2 separate regions of the Homo sapiens genome follow, and region 1 is linked to region 2. Evidence: promoter capture Hi-C in human tissues and cell types (Jung and others, 2019). All regions are on one chromosome and are shown on one strand. Each heading gives the region's core, a stretch centred on a gene start or on the middle of the fragment in contact. The rest is flanking DNA. Distances are from core to core; before and after follow the strand shown. Region 1 overlaps RNASEH1 (ribonuclease H1). Region 2 holds the start of COLEC11 (collectin subfamily member 11).

Evidence for each region. The method cuts DNA at HindIII sites, captures the fragments that hold promoters and counts their contacts. A contact is called where the count stands out against the background at its distance.
Region 1: a fragment that was not itself captured here is called in contact with the fragment with the promoter of COLEC11 in region 2 in 1 of the 25 tissues and cell types used here (thymus).

What each region holds. Positions count from the first base shown.
Region 1 is chr2:3,538,371-3,545,980 of GRCh38, reverse strand. RNASEH1 (ribonuclease H1) reads left to right here. Exons shown (of 8, transcript NM_002936.6): 8 at 110-4,551. The coding sequence ends at 196. Among named protein-coding and RNA genes, the nearest start is that of RNASEH1, 16 kb to the left of the region's middle. The HindIII fragment of the contact is 6,767 bases long and covers 2,832-7,610 here.
Region 2 is chr2:3,591,679-3,599,041 of GRCh38, reverse strand. COLEC11 (collectin subfamily member 11) reads right to left here and starts at 3,930. Exons shown (of 7, transcript NM_024027.5): 1 at 3,874-3,930. The HindIII fragment of the contact is 12,548 bases long and covers 1-7,363 here.

The DNA of each region.
Region 1 (7,610 bases), core at 4,966-7,465, 55 kb after region 2:
AGCTTATGCTGTGCAGTCTGTTCTGAATGGTTTTTTATGATGACAATATAGTCATGTGTTGCTTATGTAAAGATGAGTAAAAATAAAAGGAAAACATTTATCTTAACAGATGCATGTTCCTGGTCATTCGGGATTTATAGGCAATGAAGAAGCTGACAGATTAGCCAGAGAAGGAGCTAAACAATCGGAAGACTGAGCCATGTGACTTTAGTCCTTGGGAGAACTTGAGCCAGCGGCTGTCTTGCTGCCTGTACTTACTGGTGTGGAAAATAGCCTGCAGGTAGGACCATTGCAGTGATGGGCAGATGCGTCTTTCACACGGAATCAGGCACAGTGGCCTTCTGTGACATGTGTTTATAAAAAATGGTTAAGTATATAATAAATTGAACATCTTTGAGATTGGAGAATTATGTGAGATTTCCACATTATGTTTACTGGGTTCAATACTGTCCTTGCTTGTTTTATTGCAGGCAAGCAAGGCAAATGGCCTAAAATGCTGTGGCTTATATTTTGATAAGAAATCAAAAAACCATTGGTTAAAAGATGCAACTCAGAAGTCTGGAAGTATTCTGAAAGCATCCATTTACCGTCCAGTTGACAGGTTTGAGTCTCCTGCTTGTATAGGTGACTTGTGCCCATGGGTACATTAAAGGAACATGCTGCCCAGGGCCTGGGCGGACAGCTCAGTGGGCAGGATGTGTGCTGGGTCTCAGCCCCATGTGCCTGCTTGCTGGGCAGTTAGTATAGGGCAAAGCCTGCCTGCGGCGACCCTGGCTGCTAGGCCATTCTCTAGGAACAGCTGCGACTCATAAAGACCAAGAAGCATAAATAAACTTTCAAAAATTTATTTGGCTCTTTCGTTAAAAACTGTGCAAATTAAAAAAAAAAAAAAAAAAGTAAGACACCGGCTGGGCACAGTGGCTCACTTCTGTAATCCTAGCACTTTGGGAGGCCAAGGCGGGCAGATCACTTGAGGTCAGGAGTTTGAGACCAGCTTGGCCAACATGACGAAACCCTGTCTCTACTAAAATTACAAAAATTATCCAGGTGTGGTGGCACGGGCTTGTAGTCCCAGCTACTTGGGAGGCTGAGGCACAAGAATCACTTGAACCCAGGCGGCAGAGGTTGCAGTGAGCCAAGATTGCACCACTGCACTCCATCCTGGGCAACAGAGTGAGACTCTGTCTCAAAAAAAAAAAAAAGTAGTAAAAGTTTGACATGATTATTTATTTAGTTTTAAACCTTTTTATTATAAAAACATACAGGAAGTGACACAAAACAAATGTATAGCTTATTGAATGATTATGATTGTAAGGTGAATAACCTTTGTGTCCACCACCTGGTGAAGAAATAGTACTTTGCCAGATACCCCAGGAGGCTCTCCCAAGTGCCCCTCCAGCCACAGCCCTCTTCTTCTCCCCCTCCTTGCCCCAACAAGTAATCCTGACTTTTACAGAAATGACTTTCTTGGTTTTTTGATGGCAGTTTAGTCTTGTCTGCTTTTTTTTGTTTATTTTTTTATCTACTTCAGTGTCCATTTGCAGTCCCGTCGGCCTCACTGTTTTCCCTGCCGTTTATCTGTTGAAGAGCCTGGGCTGTTTGTCCCATGGCTTCCCACAGTGTAGATTTTGCTGACCACGTGGTCATGGTGTAGTTCAGCATGGTCCTCTATGTTTCCTGCACATTGGCAGCTGGGTCCAGAGGCTTGATGAGCCTCAAATTTGATCCCTTTGGCAGGAGAACAGGCGGTTAGGAGCTTTCCTCAGGAAAGTACCATGTTGACGGCAGCTGATGCTCAGTGCCAAGATCCATTAATTATTTGGGGTTGCAAAATGGTGGTATTCTCATTCTGTCGTTTTGCTTGCCTTTATTAGCTGGAATGGTTTTCTAAGAAAGTGTTTTCTTTTTTATACTTATCTGGTTACCCAGTGGTACAGTTCATATAGGAAGGGCAGGATAAATGCTTGATTCTTTGCTCTTGTACACTAAGTTTTTAAGATAATGCATTAGTTGTCTGTCAAGGAAGGTGAGTGGTGAAGGGTTTTTACATATATACAAGAATTCATGGGCTGGGCATGGTGTCTTATGCCTGTAATCCCAGCACTTTGGGAGGCTGAGGCTGGAGGATCACATGAACCCAGGAGTTTGAGACTAGTCTGGGCAACATAGTGACACCCTGTCTCTACAGAAAATTAAAATAAAATCAGGTGGGTGTGGTAGTGCCTGCCTGTTGTCCCAGCTATTCTGGAGGCTGAGATGGGAGGATCGCTTGGGCCCAGGAGGTCGAGGATGCGTGAGCTGTGACCATGCCACCACATTCCAGCCTGGGCGACAGCAAGTCCTTGTCTTAAAAAAAAAAAAGAATTTGTGGAGTTAAGCATACTTGGTGGGTTTCAATCCGTTGTGATTTTTATCTTTATTTAGCTCAGACTAGCTTATTCGGTCAGTGAGAGGGAGCCTCTTCAGCTTGGCTCTTGCTTTCTTTTGATAAGTGTGCACATGTGTGCATACATGTGTGCACAGACCACACGCACAGTCATTGATAGCTCCCTGCAGCCTGGCATGTCAAGATGCTCTAGGCCCAATTTATAGAGCTTCTGCTCCAAACCTGTCTTAAAAGAAAAACTTTAGACAAGTTAGCAGTTTAATTGAGCAGAAAATAGTTTCTTCAGCTGGGTAGCACTCAGGACCAAAAGTGGTTCAGAACGTTCTCCTGTGCGTTGTGTGCAGGCTGTATTTATTTATAGCCACAGGAAGGGAAAGACACATGTACATGGCCAGACTGACTGCAGGTCAGCCTCCACCTCACATAGGCATGTTTTGGGAGCCTTCAGCATGTGATTGGTGAGACTCTGCTGCTTGTTACAGAAGTGTACTCTCAAGTCAGGTCCCAGTTTGCTTATACATTAAGTGAGGTTATAAGTCACTATGTACAGAGGCAGTTTTAGGCCAAACTTAATTCCGTTTAACACTTGGAATCCATTATTTTTCCCAGAGTCTCTGGTAGAGATGGTATTTCAGATCCAGTTTAGGATGCTCATTGCTATTGCGTTGGTCATTATTTCTAGATTTTTGGACGGAGCTTTAAAAAAATACAAACATTGCACACACATATTTAAAGGAAGAATATTTTCTGAGCCTATATTGATATTCCCAATACAAATTCAGGGTCCTGGGGCCTTTACATAGCCTCCTCTATATGATGTCTGTGTCTCCTGCACTCGGAATCCTGCTTCTCAAGACACAGGACAATGGCATGGAATATCCATCCCTTAATCACTCACTTGTTTTATTCCTCTTTAGCATTTAGCATTTAAAAAAAATACTAATACCATAGCATTAATTGTGATGATGAAAACAGCACTGTGTCTACGTTGTCAGAAAAATTGCTCCTTTTTACCACCATTGACTCATTTCTGTGTGTTCAGGTCTCATAACCAGTCTATAGTCAGTGTCATCTTGGGGACAGTATTCCTTGAGTTTCTGATGTTGAATTCAGTTTTGCTGGATACGAAATTCTTGGCCCAGATTTTCTTTGAGTATCTTGTTTTATTCTGTTTTCTTCCAGCATAAAGTGATGCATGAAAAGCCTGATGAATCTTGTTTTCTTCCCCTGACAGTCATATGCTGTTTTTCCTTAGATGCCCAAAGGATTTTTTCCTTTTTCTGTCAAGTCGGCCGTTTTATTCGAATGTGTCATGTGTTGGTATTGGTTGTCCTGGTCCATATTTGCAAGCGTATGGTGTGCTCTTTCTATGTGTACTTCATATCTGTTATTTTAAGAAGATTTGCTTGAACTGGAGTTTAGTGTTACATTTTTCTTGCTTTGGCTTTTTTCTGTGGGGATCCCTGTTATCTGTATGTTGAAATCTAAATTGGCTGTTCTCAGTGTTTGCCACTGTCTCTTGAATCTCTTTTATCTCTTTCTTTGTTTCTTTTTGAGTTTTAAAAGTTGTTATTGTACCACTTTTGTTTTGTTTTGTTATTTAAAATAGGAACAGTGTCTCACTGTGTTGCCCAGGCTGGTCTTAAACTCCTGGCCTCAAGCGATCCTCCTTCCTTGGCCTCCCAAAGTGCTGGGATTACAGGTGTGAGCCACCAAAGCCGGCCCCACCTTGCTTTTTAAAACAGCTCTGTTGAGGTGTAACTGACAGGTAATGAACTGCACATACGTGAAGTGACCGATGCATTTGCCTGTGAAGCTGTCGCCAGAACATGTCCATCACCACCAACAGCAGTTTCACACCCCGGTCTAAACCGTCCCTCGTGTCCTCCATGTTCAGGCAACCACTGGTCTGCTCCCTCTCACTAAAGGTTAATTTATATATTCTAGAATTTTATCTGAGTGGAATCGCAGAGCAAGTACTGTGGGGGGAGGTGCTTCTACTCAGCATAATTATTTTGGCATTCACCCATTTTGTGTACATCAATAATCCACATTTTGTATTGCATGGATATACCACAGTTTATTTATTTACCTGTTGACCGATATTTCGATTATTTCCAATTTCTAAATAAAAATAAAGCAAATAAAGCTGCCGTGAACATTTATATCCTCGTCTTTGTCTTCTGTTTCTCTTGGGTAAATGCCTTGGAATGGAATGCTTGGTCATATGGCAGGTGTGTGCTCTTTTTTTCTTTTTTTTTTTTTGGAGATGGAGCCTCACTCTGTCACCCAGGCTGGAGTGCAGTGGCGTGATCTTGGCTCACTGTAAGCTCTGCCTCCCGGGTTCACACCATTCTCCTGCCTCAGCCTCCCGAGTAGCTGGGACTACAGGTGCCCGCCACTACACCCGGCTAATTTTTTTGTATTTTTAGTAGAGGTGGGGTTTCACTGTGTTAGTCAGGATGGTCTCAATCTCCTGACCTCGTGATCCGCCTGCCTCGGCCTCCCAAAGTGCTGGGATTACAGTGTGAGCCCAGCCAGCTGGTGTGTGCTTTTTAAGAAACTGTGAAACTTTTCCAAGTGTGAACTTTACACTTTACATTCCCTCCAGTCAGGCAGGAGAGTTCCAGTTCACTCCACATCCTTGTCAACACTTGTCACCTCATTCTGTTACAAATGTCCATAAGTTTTTTGGTTTTGCTGTTTAGTAGTTCTGTTTTTAGGTGGGGATTTGAGAAGATTCAAAAAGCATGCTCCTGCTGCTGCCTCTGTCTTCTGAGAATCTGTGATTTAAAAAAAAAAAAATTGAACCAGAATTGGAAATAGATGAAAAGTTGTGCCTTTAGAAACTTTACGGTCTGTGGGATTTTCACAACACAGATGATGTTGGCTGGGCGCAGTGGCTCACGCCTGTAGTCCCAGCACTTTGGGAAGCTGAAGCAAGTGGATCACGAGGTCAGGCGTTCAAGACCAGGCTGACCAAGATGGTAAAACCCCATCTCTACTAAAAATACAAAAATTACCCAGGCGCGGTGGCAGGTGCCTGTAATCCCAGCTACTCGGGAGGCTGAGGCAGGAGAATTGCTTGAACCCAGGCGGCAGAGGTTGCAGTGAGCCAAGATTGTGCCACTGCACTCCAGCCTGGGCAATAGAGTGAGACTCTGTCTCAAAACAAAAAACAAAAGTGATGTCAGTACAGCAGAAAGTGCATGAAGCCGGAGGGAAGGAAAGGTCCAACCACTTTTAAAGAGGAATCTTAAATTTTTAGGGGGCAATTTTTTTTTTATTAAAAGAAAATATATTACTGAGAATCAAAAAATCAGCTGCATTTTTTATATCTTTAGAAACTTAACAATGATATATAATTGCATCTTCATCAGCTCCAAATCAAAATATTTGAGTGACTGTCATATCAGATTGTGCTACATATTGTGGAATATATAAGCTTTCAACTGGTGCTGCTTTAATAGGATGTTCGTGCCGCACAAATAGAGGCCGTTGAAGAAATGTTCTTTGTGCAGAACTCCCCTCCTGGTGTCTGCCGGTACTGGAGCGTCACGGTGTCACCCCATTGCTGAAGCCTGAAGGTAGCCACTCTGCCATCTTGTAGGACAGGCACAAAAGTGCACGAAGCCGGAGGTCAAACAAAACGAGAAAGAAAAAGCCCTCCTGGCTGGTGGACAGCTTGGGTAACTGTAAATAGGAACCAATGAAAGCTGCACTCCTGATTTCAGGTGATGTTCATTTCAAGTTGAGCAAGTCTGGGCCACAGATGCTGTGGCTGAAAAGGAGGGCCTCGGGGTAGATTTCTGGTCTTTTTCCTAATTCTAATATTCTAGTAGTTCTGGAGCAAGAAGGAATAGGTCACTCAACTAAAGCCCCTTTTTTAATAACGTGATGAGCTGACATTCAGAACTCAGGATGTCATCAGAACAAAACACGTAGCAATGATCGTGGTGGTCGTGGTTCCTCAGTTCGTAAACACTCAGGGGTAACATGGGGAGGGCCGGCTGCATCTGCCTGCATTGTGTCTCCTGGCACACAGAAGGCGTTGACTATGCTGGCCAGCTCGTTCAAGCAGCTTTGGTTCTTAATTGCCCATTGAGAGACAGGAATTGGCACAAGGTGACTCTGATATTGTGTTGACATAAGTATTTGTCAAAGAACAACTTTCATCAAAATACGCCCCCAAATTAAGATTCTTTGGTGATACGGGAAGCCGCCAGTATATGGTGGTAGGGTTTTGGACAAAGACAAATATGAATGAAGTGGGAAACAGGGCAAGTGGACCGCTGTCTCTGCCCGCAGCTGACAGAGCTGTTCTCTAAACCTAAATATGCACAGATTCGTGTATATTAAAAGCAGTACCTCAACAGTAAACAAGGGTCTTTAACCTAGGATTTAACATCCAGCAATCATGAAAGAAGACTACGTATAAATAAAAAGGTTTTGAAGAGCCATAAGCAAAAACAAACTAGGAAAAGAAGTTGCAACTCATATCACAAAGGACTAATTTCCCTAATATATAAGAACTAGAAATTGAAAAAAAACTAACAACTCAGAAGAATGGATTGGCCAAATTGTTTACAGAAAAAGAAATACTCATGGCCCTTTAGGAATGAAAAGATGCTCGGCTTTACTCACGAGAGAATGCAGATTAAAACACCAAGACATCATTTCTCTGTATGATATTAGCAACAGTGCATATGTTGCTGAGGCTGCCTGGAAACGTGTGCTCACCTGTGTTGGTGCTGAGTGCGGATGGGCACCACTCAACACCAGACAGAGGCGTGGCCCACTCTCAGAATTACAAATGCTTTGATGTTTAATCCACCAGTCCCCACTCTGCAGATTGTATGCTGTAGATACACCTTGCACACATAAAAATAAAAGATGACCAGGTTTTTAATATCAGAGAACTGGAAACTATACTGGGACCTGAAGCGGCCGTGGAATAAACAGCGTTAGAGTGACAGACCCCATAAGTACCCACAGACCAGAAGGTGCTCTGGGCACTGTTAAGTGGAAAAAGGAAAGTACCTGATTCATGTTACAGCAGGCTGCCTTTTGTGTCAAAGAGGATAAATAAAAATTCACAAACAGTGAAGTATTACTCTATTACACTGGGAATGGGGAGAGGATGCTGTGGGTGGGAACAGGGCGGTAATGAGACTTGCTGGGGTGTGCGTCTTTGTATGCTATCTTTTTATCTTTTATATATATA
Region 2 (7,363 bases), core at 2,681-5,180:
ACTACCCTCTCCCCATGCATCAAAGGAAGGGCTCACCTTCCTCCTTCAGTCACGATGTAAGGGATTTTTAAAAATAGGTTTTTGATGGAGAGAACAAGGAGCCAATATACGTTGTATACCAAATGTGGACACATATCTGATTTAATTCCCAAAACAACCTTGTACCTTATTACAGTTCCTCACTCTAAAGACAATGCAATATGGAAAGTTGAACAATCGGCCCCAACTCCACCACCAGGCCACGCAGCTGGGCACTCCGCCTGCAGCCTCCTCTCCACACCCCGCACCCACGGCCCGCCTCCAGCCTCCTCTCCACACCCCTCACCCACGGTCCGCCTCCAGCCTCCTCTCCACACCCCTCACCCGCTGCCTGTGCCCACACCCTTCTCCCCTGTGCTCACGCGGATATTAGAACAATAAGGGCAACCGAAAAGCGGAAACCCAGGACCCCACCAGCTGACTTCACTCCTCCCACCTTCCTTGTTCGCTGCCAGGCTTGGGTCCACATGCAAGTGATCTGTGCAAGCTACAGCTTCGTAAAGGTCTCTGGGCACGCAGAAGCCTGCAGTTTAGCAGGCACCAAACTGAGTGAACAAGTGAATGAGTAAATAAAGGAACAAACAACAGAACGAAAGTTCACAATTGCATCGCAAATAGAGCCTTCTGCTCTTCTCCTCGTGGTGTTTCCGTGTTTCCAAATCTTTATTATATCTAATGTCTACACAGTATTTCCAGGGCAGGCAGTCTGCAGACGTGGGTTACTGCCCTGCTGTCATTGTCCTGAAATTCCTAATAATGTTGAAATGGGCCAAGCACAGTGGCTCACGTTTGTAATCCCACCACTTTGGGAGGCCGAGGTGGGTGGATCACCTGAGGTCAGGAGTTCGAGACCAGCCTGGCCAACATGGTGAAACCCTGTCTCTACTAAAAATACAAAAATTAGCTGGGCATGGTGGCGGGTGCCTGGAATTCCAGTGACTCGGGAGGCTGAGGCAGGAGAATCGCTTGAACCCGGGAGGTGGAGGTTGCAGTGAGTCGAGATCACACCACTGCCCTCTAGCCTGAGTGATAAGAGTGAGACTCAGTCTCAAAAAAATGAAATAAATAAAATAAAATAAAAATAAAAAATACAAAAATAATGTCAAAACAAGGGGCACCACAAGGTTTGTAGCCAGACGTGCTGGTCCACTGGGCTCATAACCGTAGTCTCCCCGGCTCCTGCCTCAGCAGCAGTATTTTGGCTCCTTGTGGTATGTGGCTTCTGAAAGCAATAGTAAACTCTTCCTCCCCACCCACTCAGTACGCAAGTCGAACCTCACTTCTCAGTGTTTGCTGGATGCAAACTGGGTTTAGTTTTTTTTTTTTTTAATGTCTCAGGAATCAAAGGCTGACATGGGAATTTCCCCTCTAGCTAGAAGTGATTCTGTTCAGGTATAACCAGGTGTTCAGCAAGGCTTTTACTGCCCTCACTCCGCAGATGTCCCAGGAGTGGCTTCAACAAAGATCAGGCTCCGTCTCCCAAGAAAAGGGGTGAGTAGTGAGCAGAGAAACCCAGAGCAGCCCAGGCAGGATTTCTCGTGCCTTCACTCACACTCATCTGCTGATCCCAGAGCAGCCCAGGCGGGATTTCTCGTGCCTTCACTCCATTCATCCGCTGACCCCGGAGCAGCCCAGGTGGGATTTCTCATGCCTTCACTCCATTCATTCACTGACACCAGAGCAGCCCAGGTGGGATTTCTCGTGCCTTCACTCACACTCATCTGCTGATCCCGGAGCAGCCCAGGCTGGGATTTCTCGTGCCTTCACTCCATTCATTCACTGACCCCGGAGCAGCCCAGGCCGGGATTTCTTGTGCCTTCACTCCATTCATTCACTGACCCCGGAGCAGCACAGGCTGGGATTTCTTGTGCCTTCCCTCACTTCACTCATCCACTGATCCCCGGAACAGCCCAGGCTGGGATTTCTCATGCCTTCACTCGCTCCACTCATTCACTGACCCCGCTGCCCATTCACAGAGTTTCTGTCCACTTTCCTGCGAGGGGCCCCAGCTAGGCCTATGGGCACAAAGGAGGCACAGGCCCTGCAGCGGGGCGCTCTCAGACGCACAGCAGGAACCAGGGCAGGTAGGCACAGGGTGAGGGCACCCAGGCGCCCGAAGGAGTCTCTGCTTCCCAGAGGTCTCGCCCTCTGACTGCCTTCTTAGAAGAGGAATTCCATTTTGTAAACGGAGAAGCCACAGCTACCCCCAGGACCTCTTTAAGAACAACATCCTTATCTCCCAGCCAGGGCCCAAGACGCTCAGGGCCCTCCCATCAATGGAAGGGGCAGACTTGACAAGCAGGGGAGAGGGGGTTAAACGTGGAATCCTGAGAGGAAATACATGTTATGAATGAAATAAACAATGGGGCCAGGCCCAGTGGCTCATGCCTATAATCCTAGCATTTTGGGAGGCCAAGGTGGGCAGATCACCTGGTTAGGAGTTCGAGAGCAGCCTGGCCAACATGGTGAAACCCCCCTCTCCACTAAAAAGTACAAAAATTAGCCAGGTGCCATGATGCACACCTGTAATCCCAGCTACTCAGGAAGCTGAGGCAGGATAATCGCTTGAACCTGGGAGGCGGAGGTTGCAGTGAGCCAAGACGGTGCCATTGCACTCCAGCCTGGGTGACAGAGCCAGAGTCCATCTCAAAAAAAAAAAAAAAAATGAAATAGACAATGAGAAAAAATCATGGCTTCAGTTGCCAAACATGCTATTCTACTTTTTCATTAAGTATCTACAGCAAGGCCCAGCATCTTACAGGCACCACAAATACCTCCTAAGAACCACATCCCTGAAGCATGAGGAGGTTCCTCTCACTGGGGACTGCCCCAGCCCCACCGCGGTGTTTCCCTCCCTACAGTGACAGAGCACCTTCTGGGGCAGCCTGGATTCCACCCACAACAGCACACGCTCCTCTTAGCTTCTTACCAAGAGCACAGAGTAAGAAGGCACCTATCCTCTCTTATCTTCCCCCAGCGGTCAGCACATTACCGGTGTGCTCTCTTCTACGGTACATGGATTTTTCAAAATTGTAAACAAAATCGAATAGCTGTGAAAGATTGGGGCAGTGCTCTGCCTACCACAGGCAAAGTGCTTCCCATCAAACCAAAATTCCAGCTATGCACATGAGATGGCTTTAAACGTTCATCTTTAAATTGAGAACGACCACATCACCTCAGCTCTAAAAAGACCGCCAGTTCCTAGCGCAAGGCATCCAGGTAGGAGGCAGCGGCCCTAGGAAACTTTCCTCCTTTCCAATTTTGGAGACAAGATGACCCCACTTGGTTTTAGATGACCCCATCTGAACTCAAAGTCTTTCCCTGGAAAGTTGCCAAAGCAAGGCCCACCTTTCCCCCACCTCTCTGATCCCCGTTCCTGAGCCCAACACAGAGCCACTGGTCCCTGGGGGCAGTCGTGGCTGCTGTCCGCCTGGCCCGTCAGACGCTGCTCAGGCTCAGGAACAATCGTCAGGTTGTGAGACCAGGTACTGCACTGCGGTTTGGAATTAGCGAAGACTGTTTAGCCCCCTGGGCCTTGGGCTGTTTGAAATCTGCCACCCAAGAGGGTGACTCCATCATCCAGCACCTCTCATGGGTCGGATCCCATCTCATCAATAGGCTCCACGAATTTCCGCCATGAACTAATCAAACTTTGGAACTCTGGTGCCAGATTTATTGAGACTCAATCTTTTGCCTGGATCTAGGGACAGATTCCCATCCTCCTCGCTCAGCAGGAGCCCACCTCGCGCCCAGTTTGGAAGCCTGCCTGCCTCCCCTCTGCACTGTCATAGCCCCGTGAAACCCTCAGCTGCAGCCCCGGGCAGAGTCTCCTACCTGAGCACGCGCTAGGCGAACGGGGCGTCCTGCCCGTCGCTGGCCCGCGAGGACACTGCCCCCAGGCGCCTCATGGCTGCTATTTAGAGAGGCGGCCGCAGTCCCAGGCGCAGGGAGAAGCCTCGGCCCGGGCCATCAGACAGCCCAGCAAATCAGGCCGCCCGGCCGCAGCGTTATCTCGGGGAGCTTCCTGTCTGCGCTGCGTCCACCGTCCTGCCTGGGGAGTGTGGGAACGCCTGGAACTCCCTGAGGCCGGCTTTGGGGTGGGGGGCAGGACCCTCCTGGAGATGCCCCTGCTAACTCTCCAACCCGAACATCCCAATTTTGTTTCTTTTTTGGCTTTCTCTTCTTTCTTTTCGTTTTTTGAAAAAATAAGCATGACTACTGTGGAAATTCAAAAGAGCATAAAGAGGAGGGACGCTCATCACCTGGCACCAATCAGACAGAAACGAGGGCAGCTGACTGATCTCCTTTCCTTTGTTCATATGGGATTTCGCTTCAAAAGTCAGCAAGAGCTTGACCACGGCCTGTGGAGACCTGGCCACACGTGAGTCCGGAAACTCACTCTACGCATTTAAGTTTCATTTAAAGGCAAGTTTCATTTAATGCCAGAAACAAATGTTAGTCAGGGGCTGGACAGATCCAGCTTCTATGCAGCCCGAATCTTGCATGTTTTGGGGGATAGCGGAACCTTCTTTAAGAAAAAGATACATATAAAATTACAATCATAAGAAGCTAGGTTCAAAGGTGAATATTTATTTAGACTGAGAAATCATAAAATAAAACTGTAAAAACACAAATTCCACACACATAATAAAATTAAGGAAAAATAATGGATTCTTTATTTAAAACGTATTATTGAAGTTATACATAAATTTGACAACTTAGACAAAATGAACCACTTCTTGAAAACACGAACTACAACATGCCCAGCATGAAACAGATAATTCAACAGCCCTATGCCAAGGAAGGGAATTGAACTTGCAATTTAAACGCTCCCCAGAAAGACATTTCAGGGCCAGATGGTTTCACAGGAGGGTCTACAAAACGTTTAAAGAAAAATTAACACCAATTCTACACATCCTCTTCCAGAAAATAGAAGAGGAGGGAATATTTACCAATTCATTTTATAAAGTTGATTATTACCCTGATACCAAAACCAGACAAAGACAGAACAAAAACACTATAGACCAATAACCCTCATGAATATAGATGAGAAAATCCTTAATAAAATATTAACAGACAGAATTCAGCAATATAGAAAAAGATTTATCAACTATGACCAAATGGGGTTTCATCCAGGAATGTGAGGCTATGTCAATATTCAAAGCTCCTTTGATAAAAACCCATTAACAAGCTAACAAAGAAAATCAAATGAATATCTCAATTTATATAGAAACAGCATTTGGCATAAACCAACACCTTTCATGATAAAAACTCTCAGAAAAATAGGTGCAGGGGACCTTCCTCAACTTGATAAAGAGCATCTGTCAAAGGCAAAGCCACAGCTAACATCATACTTCATGGGCAAAAATGGAATGTTTCCTTCCTGAGATCAAGACAAGGCAAGGGTGTCCACTCTTACCTCTTACTCAATGCAGTGCTAAAGTTCTAGGCACACCAGCAGGGCCCGAAAAGGAAATAAACAGCATGTAGATTCGAAAAATAAAATAACTCTGTCCCTTGTTGCAGATGACATGGTTGTCTACTTAGAAAATCCCAGAGTCTACAAAAGAGCTCCTGGAAACTATTAAATCAGTGTGACAGGTGACAGGATACAAGGCAAACATTTAAAAAACCAAGTAGGCCAGGCGTGGTGGCTCACACCTGTAATCCCAGCACTTCGGGAGGCCAAGGTGGGAGGATCACCTGAGGTCAGGAGTTAGAGACCAGCCTGGCCAACAAGGCAAAACCCCATCTCTACTAAAAATACAAAAATCAGCCAGGCATGGTGGTACATGCCTGCAATCCCAGCTACTCGGGAGGCTGACGCAGGAGAATCACTTGACTCCGGGAGGCAGAGGGTGCAGTGAGTTGAGGTTGTGCCATTGCACTCCAGCCTGGGTGACAGAGCGAGACTCTGTCTCAAAAAAATAATAAACAATGAAAAACCAAGCAGATTTCTATAAAATAACAATGAACTCATAGACACCAAAATTCAAAATAATATCATTTACAATTGCTTTAAAAAAGGAATACTTAGGTGTAAATCTAACAAAACATATATAGAACTTACATGCTGAAAACTACAAAATGCTGCTGAAAACCTCAAAAAAGATCTGAATAAACAGAGAAACACGTCGTCTTCATAGATTAGGAGACTCACCCCAAGCACAGTGGCTCATGCCTGTAATCCCAGCATTTTGCAGGGCTGAAGTGGGAGGATCACTTGAGTCCAAGAGTTCAAGACCAGCTTGGGCAACATGGTGAAACCCTGTCTCTAACAAAAACAATACAAAAATTAGCCGGGCATAGTAGAATGGTCCCAGCTACTCAGGAGGCTGAGGTGGAAGGATCACTTGAGCCCGGGAGGTGGATGTTGCAGTTAGCTGAGATCGCACCACTGCACCCCAGCCTGGGTGACAGAGTGGGACCCTGTTTCAAAAATAATAAAATGAAAATTAAAAAGTATAGATTGGGAGACTCAACAGAGTAAAAATGTTGATTCTCCCCCAAGTTAATATACAGTACAAGCTTAACACAATTTCTATCAAAATCATAACAATAATTTTTGTAGATATAGACACGGCTATTCTAAAGTGTATATGAAAAGAGAAAGGAACTAGAATAGCTAAAACAATTTTGAAAAAGAATAAAATAGGAGGAATCAGCTCTCCGTCTCCGTCTCCGTCTCCGTCTCCGTCCCCGTCCCCGTCCCCGTCCCCGTCCCCGTCCCCGTCCCCGTCTCCGTCTCCCTCCATGGTCTCCTTCCACGGTCTCCCTCTGATGCCGAGCCAAGGCTGGACGGTGCTGCTGCCATCTCGGCTCACTGCAGCCTCCCTGCCTGATTCTCCTGCCTCAGCCTGCTGAGTGCCTGCGATTGCAGGCGCACGCCGCCACGCCTCACTGGTTTTCGTTTTTTTTTTTGGTGGAGACGGGGTTTTGCTGTGTTGGCCGGGCTGGTCTCCAGCTCCTAGCCGCGAGTGATCCGCCAGCCTCGGCCTCCCGGGGTGCCGGGATTGCGGACGGAGTCTCGTTCACTCAGTGCTCAGTGGTGCCCAGGCTGGAGTGCAGTGGCGTGATCTCGGCTCGCTACAGCCTCCACCTCCCAGCCGCCTGCCTTGGCCCCCCAAAGTGCCGAGATTGCAGCCTCTGCCCAGCCGCCACCCCGTCTGGGAAGTGAGGAGCGTCTCTGCTTGGCCACCCATCGTCTGGGATATGAGGAGCCTCTCTGCCTGGCTGCCCAGTCTGGAAAGTGAGGAGCGTCTCTGCCCGGCCGCCATCCCATCTAGGAAGCGAGGAGCGCCTCTTCCCCGCCGCCTTCCCATCT